Linked DNA regions of Homo sapiens: regions 1, 2, 3, 4, 6 and 7 are each linked to region 5. Evidence: promoter capture Hi-C in 16 types of primary human blood cells and fetal thymus (Javierre and others, 2016). All regions are on one chromosome and are shown on one strand. The core of a region is centred on a gene start or on the middle of the fragment in contact, and the rest is flanking DNA. Distances in the headings are between cores, read along the strand shown. Region 1 has its middle 33 kb from the start of MAPRE2. Region 2 overlaps GALNT1 (polypeptide N-acetylgalactosaminyltransferase 1). Region 3 has its middle 160 kb from the start of MIR3975. Region 4 overlaps LOC105372064 (a long non-coding RNA gene). Region 5 holds the start of ZNF396 (zinc finger protein 396). Region 6 overlaps MAPRE2 (microtubule associated protein RP/EB family member 2). Region 7 has its middle 50 kb from the start of MAPRE2.

Region 1 (2,866 bases), core at 282-2,781, 370 kb before region 5:
TGGGCATTGTGGTGCATACCTGTAATACCAGCTACTCGGGTGGCTGAGGCACAAGAATCACTTGAACCCAGGAGGCAGAGGTTGCAGTGAGCCAAGATCGTGCCACTGCACTCCAGCTTGGGTGACAGAGCAAGACTCCATCTAAAACAAGCAAACAAAGTGGAGATATGGTACCCTGCATGATGTTCCAACAGCTGGAATATTCAGGGGCCAGAGCAGGCTCTAGGACAGAGTTGGGACAGGGCTCAGTGGAAAGGTACCTGAGGGCATTAGAAATAGGAAGAACCAGGAAGAGAAACCACCTAAGCTTTCTGTGTCTATAGCTGCGGATCATAAGTGCCCTTTGAAAACTGATCTTGTACTGCTAGCCCTTATAGTAGGTGGTCCATATGTCGGGTCTGTATGAGGCAATCCTGGTTCAAGTCTGTGTTCCTGGAAAATAGTCTAGTTAGCACTGCCTTTCACCCTCAAAACGTTTCATTTTGGATGATAAATTATATGATCATCCTATCTTCCAGGCTGGTGAAGAAAAAGTAACAGGAAAAGGTGGCCCACTATCTAAATAGGGTGTTGCTTTCTAAATCTCCTTATATATGGGGGTATGGGACAAATGTGTTTTTAAAGAGCCAAATTGTAAATATTTTTTGCCTTGCTGGTCATACAAGTCTCAGTCTAAACTGTTCAACTCATTGTAGTGTGAAAACAGACAAAGATAACACATAAAGAGATGGCCTTGGCTGTGTTCAGTAAAGCTATTTACAAAAACAGGCAATGGACTATACTTGGCCTGCAGGCCATCATTTGCGCATCCATGATAGATAACAGAGATGGGTTAAGTTGGTAGGAGATGGCAGAGAACCAAAGAGAGAACCATCATTAGTCCCTCTCCCTTCTCTCTATATCCCTTCTGGGTTGCACCCTCCTTTATTTAACCCTTTCAGGAACTAGTACAGTTGACCCTTGAACAACATGGGTTTGAACTGCACGGGCTTACTTATAAGTGATTTTTTTTTTTCAATAAATGCAGTCAAACTTCCATATCCGTGGATTCCAGATCCGCAACCAAAAGTAAACTGAAAATACAGTATTCATCGGTATATGAAGCCAAAGGCAGCCAGCTTTTCATATTGCTGGATTCAGTGGGCCAACTGGGGGACTTGAGCATGAATGGATTCTTGTGGGGGAAGGAAGGTTCTGAAACCAATCCCCTAGGGAAAGCTGTATTGATCATTTCCTTGAATGAGTAATCCTATCTGCTATTAAGTGGTTCCTGAGATTCCTTTACTGGGTGTCACTTCTTGTTTCTCATCCAAATCTGTTCCTGCACCACACACAACATGCTTGTACTTTATACCTCATGATGTATAAGACTCAGGTGACACCTGAGTCTTAGTGTTAAATACTGAAGCAATAGCTCATTAGTAGGCAATTTAATTTTATGCTTTGATCCTCACTAAATAGTTATCTTTGGGAAATATAATCAGTCACGTTAAGGAAAAGTTCATGTCGACTATACCAAATTTTTTATTATATTAATGAAAAGTAACATAATACACTTAAAGAAAACCTAGAGGAGAAAATCACCCATAACAACACCATCCTAAAATAACTATTTTTCCATTTTTGCATATTTGGTCTTCTCACGGGCATTCCTAATTTTCCACAGTGCATATCATAATGAGTGTGAACTTTGTATTTTACCTACTGTGAGTCACAGCATCTTTTACTTTCATGGGTCATCAGAACTATTATTGGAATTGCAGTATAATGTTATATCAACATGCCATAGTATGTGCTTTAATTCTTACTATCTTCCCATTTTCACTATAAAAAATGCTATGCTAAATTTTTATACAGATCTTGTTGTTGGTTTGGTTTCGTTTGGTTTGTGTCTATTCATCTATTTTCTAAGGTCACAATCCCAGAAGTGGGATTATCTGTCAAGGACAGACCATTTTTATGACTTTTAATCTAGTTTACTATATTTTTCCCAGAGATTTGGAATAATTTACAAACATTTATAGTTTTAGGGTACTAGTTTCACCATAACATTTTCAGAAAGCATTTAATTTATTCAATAGTATTTACTGAATGATTACTAACTGTAAAGCACTGTGCTGAGTGTTTTGGGGTGTGTGTGTGTGTGCATGCACGTGTGTGTGTGTACATATATATATATGAATGATGTGCTCATTCTACATTTATTTTGTGCCTACTATCAGCTAGGTATTGTAGTTTTTCAATAGTGAGCAAGAGATAGCTTCTATCTCAGAGCATTTGACTTTACTGGGGAACTAAGATATATGTAAACGACTTTAGTAAGAAAATAAGATGCACCATAGGAGAAATACAGTTACAGTATAATGGGAGTTTGGGGAGGGGGAGGTAGAGATGACATCTGAGCTGAGCCATGAAGGTGAGTTGGTGTGGAATACTCAGGGATGGTGAGATTAGCTATTCATTCCATAAACATGTATTGATCACCAACTCTGTGCCAAGTTTTATGGTAAAAGCTAGGGATATAGAGGTGACCAAGGCAGAGCTCTTAAAGCATACTATCTAATAGTGTAAAGAATATTTTTTAAAAAATCATTATAAGGGTGATAAGCAGGCTAGCTTGCCTGGCAGAAGATACACAAGGTTAGGGATGAATGCGAGTTTCCCCTGGAATGAAACTTTTCCATGGCTTCTCTTTTGTAAGGCACAGCCTTCATCATCAGTTATTGTGTCAGAATCTGTGGGAACATCTGCTTCTGGAAGCTTGAAGTTTCTTGTAATTGCACTTGTACTGACCAACATTCCAATTAAAGTTGGCCTGCATTGACAGTCCCCTAAATGAGTACATTTACTGAGAATGCACGGAGGA
Region 2 (3,158 bases), core at 362-2,861, 310 kb after region 5:
AAACTATTGAAGCAAATAATTTAGTTACCTTTGAAGTTCAGCTATAAAACTTACACAAGATTCCCTAGTTGTTTTTAATTTTTATTATTTTCAAGGAAGTAATTTAAGCTCTAAAAGCTAATATATAGTTTGGATATGCTACTTTGCTGCTTTACTCTCAAAAACATAAATTTCACATTTAAACATAAATTTCACATTTTGTAATATGCTTTTTATTTTAGTGTGAAAATTTTTTTTATATAAAACCTAGTCACTTTACCAGCTTTATATTTTTCAATAAAAATGCGAAAGAATTCTAAAATGACTCTAAATTAATTTAACCCAGTCTACATATAAAGTCTTTGCATTTCATGTTCACTAGAATCAACATATCGTTTAAATGGCATTGCATATTTTTGCAAATAACCAACTTTAGACACATAGCTTATTATAGTGGAAATCACACTGACGTGTACTGTAATCTGAACCAGCGAGCTCACTTTGTTCCCAGTGAATCGCTTTGCCTTCTTGTCAAAGAGAGGGTTGGACTCAATATCACCTTGGAGATCCTATCCAGCTCTAACACTTATAATCCTGGGAAAACTTGAAGGTAGGAACACTGAATATTTAACAAAATCAGAACTTTCCAAAATGTTATTTTAATTATAAAGAGTTATGAGATTTTTAACTTGGTGGGGGGAATGTATTTTGAAAGAAACAGAAGGATTTCATTAAATTAAGGATGTAAGCCCATACTTGATCATCTTTCTTCTGCCCCTTTTTTTGTTTTTATTGTTCTAACAAAGACAACAAAACATGCTTTTACTGTCTCACTGAAGAACTTACAATGGATCTAGTTGAGATTCCTAGGTTCTGTTTCATGTACAAGCCGTGACGCAGGTTTGGAGAGGGGTGAACAGATGAGCATCTGGCTGGTTACTCCATGGTCAGGTTTTGTTTGGTGGTTGTTTTTAACCATGAGCCACATTAATAAATACATTATACATTCTGCACACACAAAACATAAAATTTAAACATTTTATGAAACAGTATGTCCTTGTTAACAAGTACAGGTTGCAATTCATCAATTTGAATTTATGATTCTCTTAGGTATAATGGCCTGCAGTTAGAAAAATACTGCTCTAGATCCCATATCTTTTCTGTATTTAGCCTTTAACCTATGTTTTCTTTATTTTAATCTTCAACTTTTGGTTTGATCAGAACCCAAATTAGAGAAATGTTTCTCTTGAGGAAGCACTGGCTTTGTAACCTAACCATACAGCCGGAGCCCATCATGTGCCCCTGATTTTGCGAAATTCCAACTGTGGAACCCAATAGATGTCAATACTTTTTTAAAAACTATCAATGTCATATATGGTCTTTGCTGTTATTTTCAGATTTGGTAGTATGGAGGTACTTTGGAAGCTTTTTACCAGTAACTACAATATGTTCCATTTAAGTTTAAACAAAAGCCAAACCCCTATTTAATTGAAAAGAAAAATACTATGGGAAAACTAAGGTGAACATTTCCTGATTACTCAGCTACATGTTACATGGTCATCTCTGCTGTTTTCAGATTTGGCAGTGTGGAGGAACTTTGGAAATTGTTACATGCTCACATGTTGGACATGTGTTTCGGAAAGCTACACCTTACACGTTTCCAGGAGGCACAGGGCAGATTATCAATAAAAATAACAGACGACTTGCAGAAGTGTGGATGGATGAATTCAAGAATTTCTTCTATATAATTTCTCCAGGTTAGCGTTGTTTTGCATTAGAAATACAAGGCTGTACCTTTGTTGACCCTGATCCTGGAGGAGAAGTAAGAAGGTTAGAAGTGAAGCTTTGAGCAGAGGTGAACACCTGCCTCATAAGGTCATTGTAAGGAATGAATGAAATCACACACAGTATAGAAAGTGCTTGGCAGAATGCCTAGAATAATATATAATTAACAGTAATAAATTATCCAGGTCAGTGTTGCTAGCCCAGGTTTTGCAGATGTTCTATTTTTTTTAAAACCTAACTGCAACATTTAGTATTTATTCCTGTGAAGTTTCATCTTGTTAAATTTTCAGCCATTTTTCTAGCTTATATGACTTTTTCTTGATTCTTGGAGTTTTCATTCAACATAACAAAACCACTGTTTTTGCAGTGGGTCATGAACGTTCTCTATAAGCAGGCCCTCAATGCTGTCATAGGAGGCTTTCGTCAAGTATCACAAGGCCACTGAGAGCCCAAAACGTGCCACAGGGCCTTCTTTCCGGAAACTTTGCTATTCAGAGTTTTGTAGGAACAGTTGTTCCATCAGCTATAAGTCGGCCTGACATTGTTACTAGTCCATCCTTATTTTTTAGTTACTGCAAGACTGTCAAGTGGCAGGGTGCACAGTTCAGTGAGTTGTGTGAGAGAAGCCTGACTGCAAACAATTGCTCTGTTTAATATTTGAGCAAAATAGACCTTGATTTTTTTGTTTGTGCCTTAACATATATTGAAGTTTACTGATCCCATATCACTTATATTTCATTCTCACATAAATGTCATTTTTCTCTGAAAAATTAAAACACATTTTAATGTATTTTCCTTGCTTTATACTTTTGGTGGATTCATGGTGTCTCCACTTGTATAGTCACATATCACCCAGCTGATACCACTGTTCTGATTCATCTGGCTTATTAGATTCAATATATAAACATGTGTTACCTAAAACAACACTAATAATTCAGAGTCAATTATTTCTTTCAACAGGTGTTACAAAGGTAGATTATGGAGATATATCGTCAAGAGTTGGTCTAAGACACAAACTACAATGCAAACCTTTTTCCTGGTACCTAGAGAATATATATCCTGATTCTCAAATTCCACGTCACTATTTCTCATTGGGAGAGGTAAGAAATATATATATATATATTCTATGTGGTTATTATGTTCTTACTTTTTTATTAAAAAAAAATAGGAGTTAGTTAAACTTCCAATAAGGAAAGTACCTTCATGTTAACATTTAACTTCTCTTGCTTCCTTCCTCCTTCTTACCACGTAAGTCTAAACTATATTCTTTTTTTCCCATTCCTCCTCCCTGAAAGTTGATTTCCACTGAGTTGATGCGCCTGGAGATAAGCTGTGTACTGTGGGGTCTGTTTTTCCCTATTCTGTCTATAGTGATGTGTTTCCTAAACAGACTG
Region 3 (2,798 bases), core at 208-2,707, 370 kb after region 5:
ATGACCTCCTTCATCTGTCTTCAAAGCCAGCAAGAGCGGGTTGAGGTCTCATATTGTATCACTCTGATCTCCTCTTCTGCCTCTCTCTTCTACTTTAAGGACCCTTGTAAGTATAATGGCCCCAGCTGGATGATACAAGATAATCTCCCCTTTGTAATGCCAGCTGATGAGTAACCTCACTTTCACCTGCAACAAATGTAATCCCTTTGCTATGTAACCTAACATATTCATATTCATAGGTTACGATGTGGACGTCTTTGAGGGGTCATTATTCTGCCCCCCACATTGCCTGCTTTAATATAAGTAAACACACTTGGTGGATGTCAGCTTTGACGTCAATACTACTGCTACTAATAAGAATAACAAGGAATTATTATCATAAAAACTCCAAGAAGCAGTTATTATTTCCATCACCTTCCTTTGCAAGGAAAATTGAGGTCCCAGAAGATTGAGTATTTTGTCCCAAGTCACAAGACTGTTGCTATGAGGTGTCCCAGAGCAGGGTTGGGGCAACAGGACTAGATGTCTAAAACAGTCATCTTTCCAGCCAGAGGAGCTACCGGTGTAAAGGTAGCCCCTTCTGTACCAGAAAAGGCCCAGTCCTTGGAGCAACAGGCCTGGTTCAAATCCTCATCTCCCTGCTCACTGCACCGTGGTCTGGGCAAATTATTTGAACTTGCCTTGCTCCAGTTTCCTCCTCCTCCTCTGTTCAGGAGAGGACATGCCAGGGCCTAGGAAACTGTATGTGGAGAAGACACAGGCAGGGACATGTCCCATGTCTGCGCCAGTGTCCTGGCTCCTTGGCTATCAGGTCCATACCTGCCTTACCCTGCCCAGCCTTGCCCTGCCCTGCCCTGGAGGGAGAATGTGCCCTAAACTCCAGGACCCTGTGTCAGCAGGGCTGGTGGACTGGGTAGCCCCTGACCCAAAGCATCTGTGAAGTATGCAGCAGACTCCATAAGGTGAGAAGGGCCAGCACAGGGCTCCCTCACCATCTGCACCAGAGTATAACATCCCTCCCTTGGGAGTCCAGGCCCCCAAAGTCTCAGCCCTAGCTCCAGCTCCAATAGGGAAAAATGGGCTGAGAAATGCACTGGGAGATCCCCAGCCTGGCTCTCCTGGGGAAACCAAAAAGGCTGCAAGTCACAGGGTGCCTCTCAGAAGTCCAGTCTGCCGCTGTGGAGGCACAGGGATCTGCATGTGCTTCTGCTGTTGCTAACGATCCTTACAATAACTCATAAAGAACCTGGGGTTCTCCCAGCCTCCGTACATGAGTCTCCCCCGGGCCTCCCCAGCCCTAATGCGGGATGGAGATGACAGATTCGCAGAGGGACTTGGCCAAGGTCACACAGCTCACATGTGGAGGCAGAGCTAGAATCTGAGCCTCGGGGGTTATAAACATTTTGCTAAAACTTAGGCTTTGGGAGAACGGAGTGGGGCCCTGCAAAACTGTGCCCACAGGTTGTTATGGCTGGTGGGTGGGCCAGCCCTTCCCTCTGTGGTAAACAGGGAAGGCCCATGGGGTGGAGGCGGGGGTGGGGGTGGGGGTGCAGTGCTTGGGTAGGTTTGAGGTGGAGAATGAAGCAGGAAATAAATGAGGGGAGGGAGCAGGGGACAGGAAAAGGATGGAGGACAAGGTGGGGTGACCATCCACGGCCCCCCAGTCCCCAGGCCCAGCTCAAGCCTGGGGTAAAGAATGAGCCTCGGCCTTTGGGGGGCCTCACTTGTATCAGTAGAGGGGATCAGAGGCCCCATCTGGCCAGGCACTGCCCACAACGTGCTATGACACCTTCTGTCAATCACCTGCCGCCCAGGCTTCAGTCTGCTCCTCAGTTAAATAAAGGATGTGGCCATAAAAGATCTCGAAGGCAGTCCCCTGCCCTGACAGGCAGAGGGCTCTGGGTGGCCTCTGTCAGATGGCAGGTTGGGGACTTCCTCATTCATTTGTTCAGCAAATATTTACCAAGCACCTACTGTGTGCCAGGCAGCAGGGTGCAGCTGGGCTTTCTATCTCTGCTTATACCGAGGAGACTCCAGGTGCAGGGGTGTGTGCAGCATGTTAGGCTGTGACTTCCTCAGAGTCTGACATGCACAGAGGTGAAACAAGCCAGTGCTCACACCGACCACACATTTTAAAAGCCAGCCCAGCACTGAGGCTTACCACCACCCCCAGGGGGGGAAGTGCCAGCCTAGGCAGGGCTCCTGTGGCTGGGGGCAGCCTGGCTTTGCCCACCCAGCCCCAGCAGTCAGCAGGACATGGGCAGATCCAGGAAGACCTGCAGGATGATGGAATCCACAGATTCAGATGGCCAAAACCAAGCTGACCACAGATAACAGAATGGATGGGCCAGGAAGATGCATTTGACCCTGTTGGGGCTCAGAAAACAATACCCTGAAGCATGGGGCTTTGGCATGCTGAGAACTTTGAAATGAAGGAAACTGGAAGGTCACAGACGCAAGTTCTTTCTGATCTTCTCCTGCCCTCCCATCTCCTTTTCCTCTTTCTTCCCTGAAGCAAGTCATAGGAACCATAATTCAGCTTCCCCAGGATGCATCCTAGAAACTACAATCCCTCTCCCCCAAAGCAAGCCATAAAACCTAGAAAGGTCATTCTCTCCCTTCTCCTGTCTCCCTCATTCCAAAATAGTCCTGCCCTATACCTAGGAGCCAAAATGAGTGATTGAAGCATAAGTCTCAGATCACTGAAGTTTATGGAGCCAGCTTGGGGGATGCACCTGGGAAAAACACGAGTCACAGATGCATCTGTGGCTCTTTCTTCCAAAGACGTTCTCAGGAGG
Region 4 (2,900 bases), core at 151-2,650, 340 kb after region 5:
GACTCTCTAAAAAAAAAAAAAGAATAAAGTCCTTTGGGGGGAAAAAAAAAAAAACCTGTCAATCCCCACCCCCATACTCCCACTAACTAAATTCAGATACGAAATTACTATCAAAAAGAGTAAGTAAGCCATCATGTGTGAATATTAAAAAAATTAATTCTAGCTTCTGGCAGTGCGAGACTAGCTTGTATCAGACTAAAGCTTAGTAACTTAATAATTTGGAACAAAATATTATTTAAAGAGTGATGCCCCAGGTGAGTGAACAGAAACTGTAGGGCATTTGACCCCTGTTAAAAAGGTGTGTTCACTGGATAGGATCTCAGCTTTTCCCCAGAGAGCATCCACCATGCACTCAGCACACTGAAGGTAGAGTTCATGCAGATGGTGACGAATAATATTAGGCTGAGGAGTCAGATCTTATTTGAGAGCAAACAGAGGCTGGAAATTGAGGAAGGAAATCCTAGACTGCAAGGAGTCAGAAAAAGAAGTCCCCAAATCTACATACAAACTTCCCTCAGATGGTTGGCTGATTAAATAGTGTGCACAGGATGAAACTCCAGGAAGGTCAGAGAAAAACAACCACCGGAAGGCAGAAAGATCTAAGCAGCAGTCTCAGCAGTTGCCCAGCACCACAAACACAGAGGTCGAAGTTCAAATTTGGAGGGGCTTGGTAAACACTGTTAACTTTATGGTGAGATCCAAGAAGGGCATGTGTAGAAATTAAGACCATTTCTAAGACCTTAGGGCTGTTTCTAGAGCCAACTACAAAATGGAAATTGACCACATCTAATAAAGTGGCTATTTTATTGATTATTTTTGAAAATAGTCAATAAAAAGCAGACCCACTAGTGACCTAGATGTTGGAATTGGCAGACAAATTCTTCAAAATAAGTATCAGTGTTTTAAAAATGTATACAGAGAAATGTGGATATAATAAGTATAATAATGGGAAGTTTCAGAAGAGGTCTGAAAACGGGGAAAAAAATCCTAAAACCAAAAAAGTATCTAAAATCAAAAACTCATTGGGATTTACAGCAAATTGGACACACACAAGAAAGGATCAGTGAACTTGAGCACAGGTCAATAAAAAATGTCCAAACTGAACCACAGAGAAAAAAGATAAAGGGATTAAAAAAAAAAAAACAGCCTTGATGATCAAATACATGCATTGACCTGGAAGGAGAGAAGATAGAGAGTGGAGGCTCTGAAGGAGACTCTTATTTTCTCCATTCTGTGGTTGCTGGTAATTCTTGGCTTGTCAGATGCCTCACTCCAATCTCTGCCATTGTCTTCACTTGGCATTACTCTCTGCATGTTTTTGTGTCTTTCTTCTCTGCCTCCTCTTATAAGGACACTAGTTACATTGAATTTATAGCCCACTTTAATCCATTATGACCTTATCTTAACTGGATCTGCATAGACTCCGCAGTGAGTCGAATTGTGTCCACAGGTAAGAAAGACATGTTTAGTCCTACCCACTAATACGTCAGAATGTGACATTATTTGGAAGTCGGGTCTTTACAGAGGTAAGCAAATTAAAATGAGATCATTACGGTGAACCCTAGCCCAGTATGACTGATGGCCTTATTAAAAGGGGAAATGACACAGACACATAGAGAAGGAAGATGATGTGCAGATACAGAGAAACACCATCCACAAACCAAAGGGTGTCTGAATCTACCACAACCTAGGAGAGGCATGAAGCAGATAACCCCTCACAATCCTCAGAAAGAACCAACCCTGCCAACACCTTGATTTTAGGCATCTAACCTCCAAAACAGTCAAAAATTATTGTGGTTTAAACCACTCAATTTATAGTACTTTGTTACAACAGCCCCAGGAAATTAATATAAATCATATTTCTAAATTGAGTCTCATGCTGATATTCTGAATAGATGAAATTCGGATACACTATTCAACCTAATACATCTACTAAACGTTTAAAGAAGAATTAACAACAATCATTCACAAACTCTTACAAAAAGAAGAGGGAACATTTCTCAATTTATTCTATGAAGCCAGCATTAGCCTGATACCAAAGCCAGACAGACATAACAAGGGAAAACAAAACAAGCTGAAGACCAATATTTCTGATGAATATACAGGTATACCCTCATCTTATTGTACTTTGCAGATACTGTGTTTTTTTAATAAATTGAAGGTTTGTGGCAACCCAGCATCAAGCAAGTCTCACAGTGCCATTTTTCCAACATTGTGTGCTAATTTCATGTCTCTGTGTCACATTTTGGTAATTCTTGCAATATTTCAAACTTTTTTATTATTAGAATATCTGTTACAGGGTTCAGTGGTATTTGATGATACTATTGTAATTGTTTGGGGGCATCACAGACTACACCCGTATGAGAGGATGAACTTAAATGATAAATTGTGTGTGTGTGCATGCATGTGTGCGTGCATGTGGACTGTTACACTCATTGGTCCTTCTGCTGTCTCTCTCCCTCTCCTCAGCCCTCTTTATTCCCTGGGACACAGAAATTTTTAAATAAGGCCAATTAATAATCCTACATTGGTCTCTTACGTGTTAGAGTGAAAAGAAGATTCACATATCTCTCATTTTAAATTGAAAGCTAGAAATGATTAAGCTTAGTGAGGAAGCCATGTTGAAAGCTGAGATAGTCCAAAAACTAGGCCTCTTGCACCAGTTAGCCAAGTTGTGAATGCAAAAGAAAAGTGCCTGGAGGATATTTAAAATGCTGCTCCAGTGAACACACAAACGATAGGAAAGCAAAATAGCCTTATTGCTGATATGGAGAAAGTTTTAATGGTCTGGATAGAAGATCAAACCAACTGCAACATTTCCTTAAGCAAAATCCTAATTCAGAACACAGCCATAGCTGTCTCCAATTCTATGAAGACAGAGCAGAGAGGAAGCTGTGGAA
Region 5 (2,965 bases), core at 342-2,841:
TGTTTTGTTTTGTTTGAGACAGAGTCTGGCCCTGTTGCCCAGGCTGGAGTACAATGGCGGGATCTTGGCTCACTGCAACCTCTGCCTTCTGGGTTCAAGCGATTCTCCTGCCTCAGCCTCCCAAGTAGCTGGGATTGCAGACGTGTACCACCACGCCCGGCTAATTTTTATAATTTTAGTAGAGACGGGGTTTCACCATGTTGGCCAGGCTGGTCTCGAACTCCTGACCTCAGGTGATCCCTCTGCCTCGGCCTCCCAAAATGCTGGGAGTACAGGCGTGAGGCTCTGCACCCGGTCTAATCATATTTTTTAAATTGGGCAGGAGGTATATGATAGTGTTTGTACAACTTCAGCAAATGATGACTACTTTAAAAATCTTACGTGCGCCTCCGTCTTCCATCGTTATGTATCCTGCCATTTGACTTATTTTCTCACTTCACCAAGTATTGTTCTAGGCCCTGTATAAAGCCTGTGAGTTCATAAAGTTGTTACCAAATAAATGATACAACTTTACACAATGATGTGCTATGAAACAAACAATAGCAGACACACATATTAACAGAATTTACTATGTGCCAAGCACTGTTTTGAACACCTTAGTAAAAATAAACAAAGGTTAAATCCTCATAAAAGCCCTAGATTATTTTTACCCCCATGTTGTAGACGGGGAAGCAGTCACAGCAAAGCCAGGTACTCTGGCCAAGGGCAAAGCTGGGGTCTGAACCCAGGCCGTCCACATTTATCCATGGTGCTGTGTGGTTAGAGGCCATAGGCAGCAGGGGCCCTTGTGGTGACCCCTGCGCGTTGTCTCAGCGCAGAGGAGGAAGTGGCGGCAGGCAGCCGCGCTCCCAGATGAAGCGGGGCCAGAAGAGTCTGGGGAACAAGACCTGAGAGGTGGGAAGGGTTGAGGCCACCGGTTTGGAGCCGTCAGGTACCCTAAGGGATATATGAGGGACCCCGGGGCTAAAGCAGCCTCTGGAAGAGAGTGGCCGCCCTGTCACTTCAGCACCAGGCGCAGAATCTGTGCTAAACCTGAGGTGAGGGTAAGGAACCCCCGACACCGCACGACAACCAGAAAGAACGTCCCTGGAGGGGAGGCTTCGATCAAAGCCTGGGACGCAGGGGTCTTTCTGCAGGGGACGCCGCTCTCGGCTCTACCCTGCTGTGGTGGGCCGGCTCTGGGAGGGCTGGCTTCCGACCATCTCCCGACCTCCCGCGCCCACCGCGCCGCGCCGCGCGCCTCCCAGGCTGGGAACCGCCGGGGCGAAGCGGCAGGTGGCGCGGGTTCACCTGGCAGGGCAGGCGCCCGGGGTCCGCCGGGGAAGGACGAGGGGAAGGGGTGCGCGGACTCAGGGGCAGGCAGCGGAGGGGAGGGGCCTGGGGATCTGGGACGGTGTAAGGGTGCTGCACTTGCGCGCGAAGGGAGGGGTGGCGACGAGTCCGCGGCCGCCTCTCCGCGTCCCCCTTCCACCACCCGGGGACCACCGCCTCTGACCGCAGCCTGGGGGCCCTAAAGAGGCCTCGGGTCTCACCTCCCGACGCCGTCGGGGAGAAACCGGGGAACTGCCAGCTGCGCAACAACTTCCGGTTCTGGTGGCGGGTCGGGGCGGGGCCCGGAACGCGGGGACGTTGCCATGGAGAAGAGCCGCTGTGGCCGCGCACTTGGGACAGGGAAAGAGAACCGGGAGGCTCGACCGGTGGGAATCCAGCTGCTCTGCTCAGTGTTCCGTTCAATAAACTAGCATTGTTGCTTCGCAAAGTGCTTTTGCTTACATTATTCATTTACTCCGGTAACTCAGTAAGGTTATTCCCATTTTACAGAAAATAAACTCAAATGTCCTGTGACTTGCCAAGGATTACAGAGAGGGGCGAATGCTGTGCTGTCTACCGCTGAGTACAATCCCTAATACCATTCCCACTCCCGAAGTGGTTACACCCCAAGTACTGACGTTTTAAGGGACAAGTTTGACATCCGCAACCCCATGCTTTCACAGGAGAACACAATGGCCCTTGAAAAAGTGAGAACTGACCCACATAAAATTTGTTACAATACATACACATATCTCTCCTCAGATAATCTTAATCTCAATTGAAAAATAAGTTTGAGGCCGGGCGCGGTGGCTCATGCCTGTAATCCCAGCACTTTGGGAGGTCGAGATGGGCAGATCACATGAGCCAAGGAGTTCGAGACCAGCCTGGCCAACATGGCTAAACCGCATCTCTACAAAACATACAGAAATTAGCCGAGTGTAGAGACGCATGCCTGTAGTCCCCGCTTCTTGGGAGGCTGAGGGGTGAGGATCACCTCAATCTGGGGAGGTGGAGACTGCAGTTAGCCATGATTGCGCCACTGCCCTCCAGCCTGGGCTGCAAAGTGAGAGCGTCTCAAAAAATAAATAAATAAATAAATTTAAGCCTAAATGCACCACAGCCCCACCTCGTGACTTCCTTCTCTAGCCCCTTTCCCTAGGGACTCCTGGAAAATGTACTTGTACTCGTAACTGAGGAATTAGGGAGAGGACGGAGATGCTTGAAAAGCACTTGCTAATTAATAAAGAACAATAACAAAAAATCCCTTTTGGTATGACGCCGCCCCAAAAGTATGTTAGTACTGGAATCTGAAGTGAAGAAAGAAGAGGCTGGTTTACTCAGTTTATGACGCTAGGGGACTAGGGAGAGGTTTGGATCCCAATTAGAGTACAGTAAAACTAAATCTGAAGAAATTCTTGCTTCAAACAAGGGGCTTTCACAGGATAAGACTTTTTGCTGATGCAGCTGCCAACACAAATAGCAAACAGCCCAAAAGTGCAGGTGGGAATGTGTTTCTGGCGCTGGTGGGTAGGGTAGGTTAAATGACTCACGTCAGGGGAGAATTTGAAACGAGGGCAAGGCTTGGCAGTGGTGTGAAGTCACAGGAGACAATTTAAGGAGAATATGAACGACAGTCAGAAGCTTCAAGGAGAAG
Region 6 (2,864 bases), core at 1-2,500, 320 kb before region 5:
TTAAAATCATCTTGGTTAAAGTGAAAATGTAAAATGAGATCTTGGTAGAATTTAAAAAGACAAAATGGCTTTATTAAAGACCACAATTGTGTCCTCACTTGGAATTATTTTTTCTTCCTGCTTAATCTCATGACATAAACACAAGAGCAGGGAGAGTCTCAATTAAAAGCAAGAATCCTGGAATTCATCCTAGGTCCAAATCCCTGCTTTGCCACTTAATAATGGTGACTAGACAAGTCACTAAACCTCTCCGAGTCTGTATCTTTTCCTACATAACATAAAAGCAGCAGTGATCACATGGCATTGTTGCAAAGATTAAATTAAAAAATTCCTGTTTTACTCTTTCATTAGGCATGTGGAAAGTTTTCAATAAATATTAGTTATTGTAACTTCTAATCTAGTTCCCCTTGTTTACTAGTGAAGAAAAGGAGATCCCAAAGAGTTGAGACACATGTGCCCACATTTATCCAACTGGTTGATAGTTCTGGAACTAGAAGCTGCTGCCCCTGATGCCTAGAACAGAGCTCTCATTAAGCTGCAGGGCAGCTAGGGAGCTTTTGGTATCTGTGTTCCAGACATTTCCCTACTCACCTTTAAAAAAAAAAAAATGCCTAGAAGACAGGGTCCTTTAATTCACTCAACCCTAGTCTGTTCCTAGCCATCTCACATAGCACTAGGGGCACGTATTGATATTTGCCTTTTGTATGATTTGGCACACCTTTGTTTGCATTCATTCAGCATTTATTTATTGTGTACCTACTGTGTGCCACACACAGTTCCAGACACAGGAGATAAAGCTGTAAACAAAACATATTCTATAAAGTTTCTGCCTTCATAGAGCTTACATCCTGGGGGCAAGAGGAGTGGACAGATGGTAAACAAACAAGATAATTACCAATGGTGTTAGTATCACCGAGGGCAGAGTAGAGAGATGTGGGAGTAACTGGAAGCGGCCACTTCAGAAGTGGGCATGGAGGGTTCACTGGGGAGTTGACATTTGAGCCAAACCTGAAGCATGAGATGCAGCCAACCCTGCCAAGTGCTGGAACAAGCTGCTCTTCCGTGGCATGAGGTCTTGAGCCCCAGTTATCCCTAAGGATGAAACTTGAGGCTTTGCTCTGTCATTTGTTTCTTATTATGAGAAGATTTAGAAAAAGCAGACACCGAAGTACCTGAGAAGGAACTAGCACCACCAAGAGTACAAGAGAGCTCAGAACCAGGAGGTGGGGACCACTCCTACAAAATGTGTGCACCACAGGACTTTGCCTAGTGGCAGCATGATTGTTTGATGACCGCATATGCTTCTGCTATATTGCATGCGCCTGATTTTATGCAGTGGACTAACAACTGAGCATGACCACCCACTATGGTACCAGCAGCACCTATGTCCTGAAAGGTTGACCCAGGGCCCTGCTCGTTGGGGGCAGCGTGGGCATGACTGGAAAAGACCTGGGATCATGGGAAAGAGCTAAGGTCAGGGTAAGAGGGAACGAGGCCAAGTAGGGCTGGGAAAGTAAACAGAAGGCATATGGTCAAGAAGGAGTGGATGTGCTGGGAGCTGAGTTGGCGGGGGAGGGGGTACTGAGAAAAGTTGGTGCCCTGAGGAGACCAGCCAAGCCCTGTGGCATGGGAATGAGCTCTAGGTCATTGAAATTATTTTCAGAGCATGGACGAAGCCACCCACTGCTAGAAACAGATGGACATTTAGGCAAATATAATCAGCTGCATTTCTGACCATATGAAGAAGCGTATGTCTATGTGGGGCAGGGAAGGGTTAGCCTTTTACTCTCTCATTGTACATGTCAAGTTTCATTCATATCCATGGACGTTATGAATGCTACAAAGAACTTTTTTAGAATTCCAAAATTTTGTCATACCCTGGATAGGAGCCAAATTTCCAAGTCATTTCAGGGCTGTAGCTATTGACTTGTTAAGTCTGAGTTTAGAAAACAAAACAAAAATCCACCCGTATATGCTGTTTTGAAAGTTTGTCTTTTTTGTTTAGTTACGATAGGGTGGCTAGCCAAACTAAGCCCTGTATGCAAGGAGCTGCCTAATGAATAGTAGTGGATGAGGTTAATGCAGATAAATAACAATGAGGCTGTTAAAAATGGAGTTGATTTTCAAGGTGACTTACGGAATGTCCTATTGTAGGCGGTTGGAGACACCTGTGTTTTAATGATATTCTGTTGGTTTTTTTTCTTAAAACATATGTAGAATACTTGGTGATATGGCAAGAAAGAGCTTAATCTCCGTGTTTTGAAAAATAATCATTAATGGTAAAAGGGATGGGCACCCTGAAAAAGAGTATTATTTTTATGTTCATTCTCTCTTGGAGGTGGCAGTTATTAGCTGTCGTTAGGAGTTCTGATTGTCAGACTAAATGGAACTTTGTATGCACATTAAAAGCATTATCATTAAGAAGTGACTGATAATGAAGAGCACATTCATATTGGAATGATAGGCAGCCTGGAAAAGCCTGCAGTAGAGAGCAAGCACCTCAAACCTGATAAAACTCACATTTATCTCATCTTCCTCTAAACAGCATAGTTTTGAAGATTCTTACATTGGTCTTCTTCACTAGTTCTAAACCATCAATGCCTAATTTTGAGAGAAAAAAATAGTATATTTCAGTGTCTATATTTTAATAAAGTATGTGCATGTTGTCATATGGACAGTGTCCTGATATTTCTCCATCATCCTTGTGTGAAGTCAGTTCCGTGCTCACACCCCTGCCACATGGAGAGGCCCGGCCGCAGGGAGGGTCTGTGCCTGGAGGAGTTGGTCTTGCATTGTCTGTCTAATCCCATCACAGTCATAGAGCCCCGTAAAAATAAAATACGTGCAGGTCTGCCCACAGCAGC
Region 7 (2,980 bases), core at 131-2,630, 390 kb before region 5:
AGGAACACTAGGAAAGATATATGGTGGACTCTTGGAGAATTGATTTCTAACTCTGACAGGTGTTGGGATATTTTTGTCTGGAATCTTAATGTAGGTCATTTTTTTTCATTTAGAAAAATCCACACTTCTTATCTAAAAATCTCAGATGTGACTTTTTTCTCCAATCCTGACTCTCATCTATGATAAATTTCATCTAGCGCTACGTTCAGTGTAAACCACTGATGCCCTAGGGAATTTTTTTAGATGTTTGTTTTAAAATTTTAGACAGTCAAAAGCACAGTACTTCTACACTGATGTTTCTAAGTTATATTAAGATTTATCAGGCTGGGCATGGTGACTCATGCCTATAATCCCAACACTTTGGCAGGACAAGGCAGAAGGATCGCTTGAGGCCAGGAAATCAAGGCCAGCCTGGACAATATACTGAGACTCCATCTCTATAAAAAGAAACACACAAAAAATTAAGCAATAACTGAACTATAGGGAGCTTTCGCTGTATTCATGGATCCCTTGGTCTTTTCATTGTGGAAGGAATGTTTTGTGAACTTGGGGACAGATAATCTGATGGGGGGAGGATCAGCTCCTGAGCCTCTGCTTTTTGTTTTTCAACTTCTATTTTAGATTCAGGGGGGCACATGCAGATTTGTTACAATGGTATATTGCATGATGCTGAGGTTCGAGGTACAACTGAACACATCACCCTGGTAATGAGCATAGTATCCAACAGGTAGTTTTTCAACCCTTGTCCACCTCCTCCTGCCTCTTTCCTCCCCTCTCTTCCTCTTCTCTCTCTCTCCCAATTCCCTTTTGTAGTCCCCAGTGTCCATTGTTCCCGTCTTTACGTCTATGTGTACCCACTGTTTAGCTCCCACTTCTAAGTGAGAGTGTGCATCATTTGGTTTTCTGTTTCTGTGTTCGTTCACTGAGCCTGTTTTGAGTAACAGGAGAGACCGAGTAGAGCTTTGGAACCAAGTTGTGCTCAGAAACAAGAAACGTCTGTCCTACAGAACTATTATTTGCCTTATTTGAAAGGAACGAGAGGCTCCTGGTACTGCTTACCCACAGCTCTCACAATTAGCCACACAGACTGCAAGACTAAAGGGAGTATAATCATATTCCAGAATGCGTGGCCTTTTTTCTCCTCTTGGGAGTCTACCGCTATATTATACTTACCCATCACCATGGACACAGCTCCAGGAGCATTGTGAATTGGAGTTAGGTTCATCTCTTTTGTGGAAGAGTATGTCAGGCTGTCTTTCTGGAATCTCTTATCTGAGTGTCTGTGATGATGCTATTCATGGTAATTTGCCCAGACCTGGGACCTTGGGTGGGGTTTGTTAGGAGTCATCTGGCACCTTTAGAGTATAACTTGTTGAGCAATCTGACGCAGGTAAGCCATGCGGGATAGGTAAAACAATTGTTGTGTTCTGTGCTCTATAATATCAAGTCATATTTTGAGTCATATTTTCCCATGGAGTTTGTGGCCCATCCCAATGGGAAGAGATTTTTAACACTATGTTCTTGTGAGGCCTAGTGGTGTTTTAAGGGTTGCTATTGGAATCTGAAAGCTGTGTGAATTTTTTCGTTTTTTATGTTTTGGGTTTTCTTTTAACATTAAAGAATGATTCATAGCCCTGAGCTTTGTTACCACCCTGTTAATAATTTTGTGTGACTTTGGTTGAGCGACTTTTGGACGCTGATTTCTCTAGCTGAAAAATTATGTAAATATTGTTACTATCATGAGTAGAGGCTCTAGAGATTAAAAAAATTAAAACAGCAAAAGTATTACAGACAAGTAAAATTAGAGAAATGATAAAGTGGAGACAGCAATAGCTACTAAAATATTCAAAAGAAAACATGAAGTAAGACAAAGAATGGTTGTCTCCAACTACCCCTCTTAGTTCAAAGTCTGTGCAATGATCTTCACTCAAAACTTTTGCAAGTTGAGCACATCATTCTTATTGTTCTTTATTATATGAACAATAAGTTAATTTGAACTGATTGTCAAGGGACCTAGTTCTTGCCCCAGCTGTGCTTAAAGTACAATCTAAGCCAACTCAATTCACTTTTGTGACCTCTGGTCTCATAATAAAATGAAAGCATCCTACATAACTTTACCCATCCACTCTCCACAAAATATCCCAGTGCTGTGAAAGGTGTTTGTTAATTCATTTTCTTATAATAAAATATAATAGAAAATAGAGTGGGAACTATATTTTTTTCCTTTGGGGAATCCATAAATTACATTTTAAACGTGAGGAAAACATGCAGTTTTGATAGTCCATTAGCACATTGAATTCTTTAAATTGGAATAGGCAGATGCAGTGATAAGTTTAAACATCCATTTAACATATGGAGAATGCCATTATAGCTGTTCAAAATACGAAAGCGGTGTGATTTCCGGCAGATCAGACACATTTTAAAAAGCACCCACTCAGAAAACTTCCTGAGCTCACGTTTCCCTGTGCATGTGGTTTTTAGTGTTGGGTTGTCTCTCCCTCATAGGCTGACAAATAAAGAGTCCATATATCATATCCCATTAGCGATAAGGGAAGACATGGAAAAAGCAGAACCACTGATGGAGCCCAGGAGTGAGTTGGATTGTGCTGCCTCAAAATACAGGTCAAGACACTAAGGCCTGAATCTTGTGATTTTGTGCTACTGCACAATTACTGGACACTGATTTATTTATAAATGAATGAATGAGTGAGACAGGATCTCACTCTTGCTCAGATTGGATTGCAGTGATACAGACATAGCTCACTGCAGCTTCAAACTCCCGGGCTCAAGTGACCCTCCCAAGTAACTGGCAATATAGGTGTATACCACCATTCCCGCCTTTTTTTTTTTTTTTTTTTTTACTTTTAATAGAGGCAAGGTCATGTTTTGTTGCCCAGGGTGGTCTAGATCTCCTCGGCTCAAGGGATTTTCCTGCCTCTGCCTTCCAAAGTGTTGGGATTACAGGCATGAGCCATTGTGC

The links. The method cuts DNA at HindIII sites, captures the fragments that hold promoters and counts their contacts. A CHiCAGO score of 5 or more calls a contact.
Region 1: a fragment that was not itself captured here is called in contact with the fragment with the promoter of ZNF396 in region 5 in 2 of 17 cell types (M0 macrophages and fetal thymus); the score reaches 5.6 in M0 macrophages.
Region 2: a contact is called between a fragment that was not itself captured here and the fragment with the promoter of ZNF396 in region 5, in 1 of 17 cell types (M0 macrophages). The highest score is 5.1, in M0 macrophages.
Region 3: a fragment that was not itself captured here is called in contact with the fragment with the promoter of ZNF396 in region 5 in 3 of 17 cell types (erythroblasts, M2 macrophages and M1 macrophages); the score reaches 7.4 in erythroblasts.
Region 4: a contact is called between a fragment that was not itself captured here and the fragment with the promoter of ZNF396 in region 5, in 1 of 17 cell types (M1 macrophages). The highest score is 6.7, in M1 macrophages.
Region 6: a contact is called between a fragment that was not itself captured here and the fragment with the promoter of ZNF396 in region 5, in 1 of 17 cell types (naive B cells). The highest score is 5.2, in naive B cells.
Region 7: a contact is called between a fragment that was not itself captured here and the fragment with the promoter of ZNF396 in region 5, in 2 of 17 cell types (naive B cells and naive CD8 T cells). The highest score is 5.2, in naive B cells.

What each region holds. Positions count from the first base shown.
Region 1 is chr18:35,006,819-35,009,684 of GRCh38, forward strand. It overlaps a transcript of MAPRE2 not described here. Among named protein-coding and RNA genes, the nearest start is that of MAPRE2, 33 kb to the right of the region's middle. The HindIII fragment of the contact is 2,453 bases long and covers 306-2,758 here.
Region 2 is chr18:35,689,457-35,692,614 of GRCh38, forward strand. It overlaps GALNT1 (polypeptide N-acetylgalactosaminyltransferase 1), which reads left to right. Exons shown (of 12, transcript NM_020474.4): 8 at 1,556-1,736; 9 at 2,725-2,864. It overlaps LOC105372064 (a long non-coding RNA gene), which reads right to left. Exons shown (of 5, transcript XR_935377.3): 5 at 620-987. Among named protein-coding and RNA genes, the nearest start is that of MIR3975, 99 kb to the left of the region's middle. The HindIII fragment of the contact is 418 bases long and covers 1,403-1,820 here.
Region 3 is chr18:35,746,247-35,749,044 of GRCh38, forward strand. No RefSeq gene overlaps it. Among named protein-coding and RNA genes, the nearest start is that of MIR3975, 160 kb to the left of the region's middle. RefSeq lists an enhancer at 2,013-2,512. The HindIII fragment of the contact is 3,244 bases long and covers 1-2,798 here.
Region 4 is chr18:35,715,796-35,718,695 of GRCh38, forward strand. LOC105372064 (a long non-coding RNA gene) reads right to left here. Exons shown (of 5, transcript XR_935377.3): 2 at 1-2,900. Among named protein-coding and RNA genes, the nearest start is that of MIR3975, 130 kb to the left of the region's middle. The HindIII fragment of the contact is 2,402 bases long and covers 200-2,601 here.
Region 5 is chr18:35,375,746-35,378,710 of GRCh38, forward strand. ZNF396 (zinc finger protein 396) reads right to left here and starts at 1,592. Exons shown (of 4, transcript NM_001322286.2): 1 at 1,533-1,592. RefSeq lists silencers at 1,108-1,297, 1,308-1,377. The HindIII fragment of the contact is 6,702 bases long and covers 1-2,950 here.
Region 6 is chr18:35,058,729-35,061,592 of GRCh38, forward strand. The region is part of intron 1 of MAPRE2 (microtubule associated protein RP/EB family member 2); the gene reads left to right. Among named protein-coding and RNA genes, the nearest start is that of MAPRE2, 19 kb to the left of the region's middle. The HindIII fragment of the contact is 3,425 bases long and covers 1-2,864 here.
Region 7 is chr18:34,990,417-34,993,396 of GRCh38, forward strand. It overlaps a transcript of MAPRE2 not described here. Among named protein-coding and RNA genes, the nearest start is that of MAPRE2, 50 kb to the right of the region's middle. The HindIII fragment of the contact is 4,840 bases long and covers 1-2,980 here.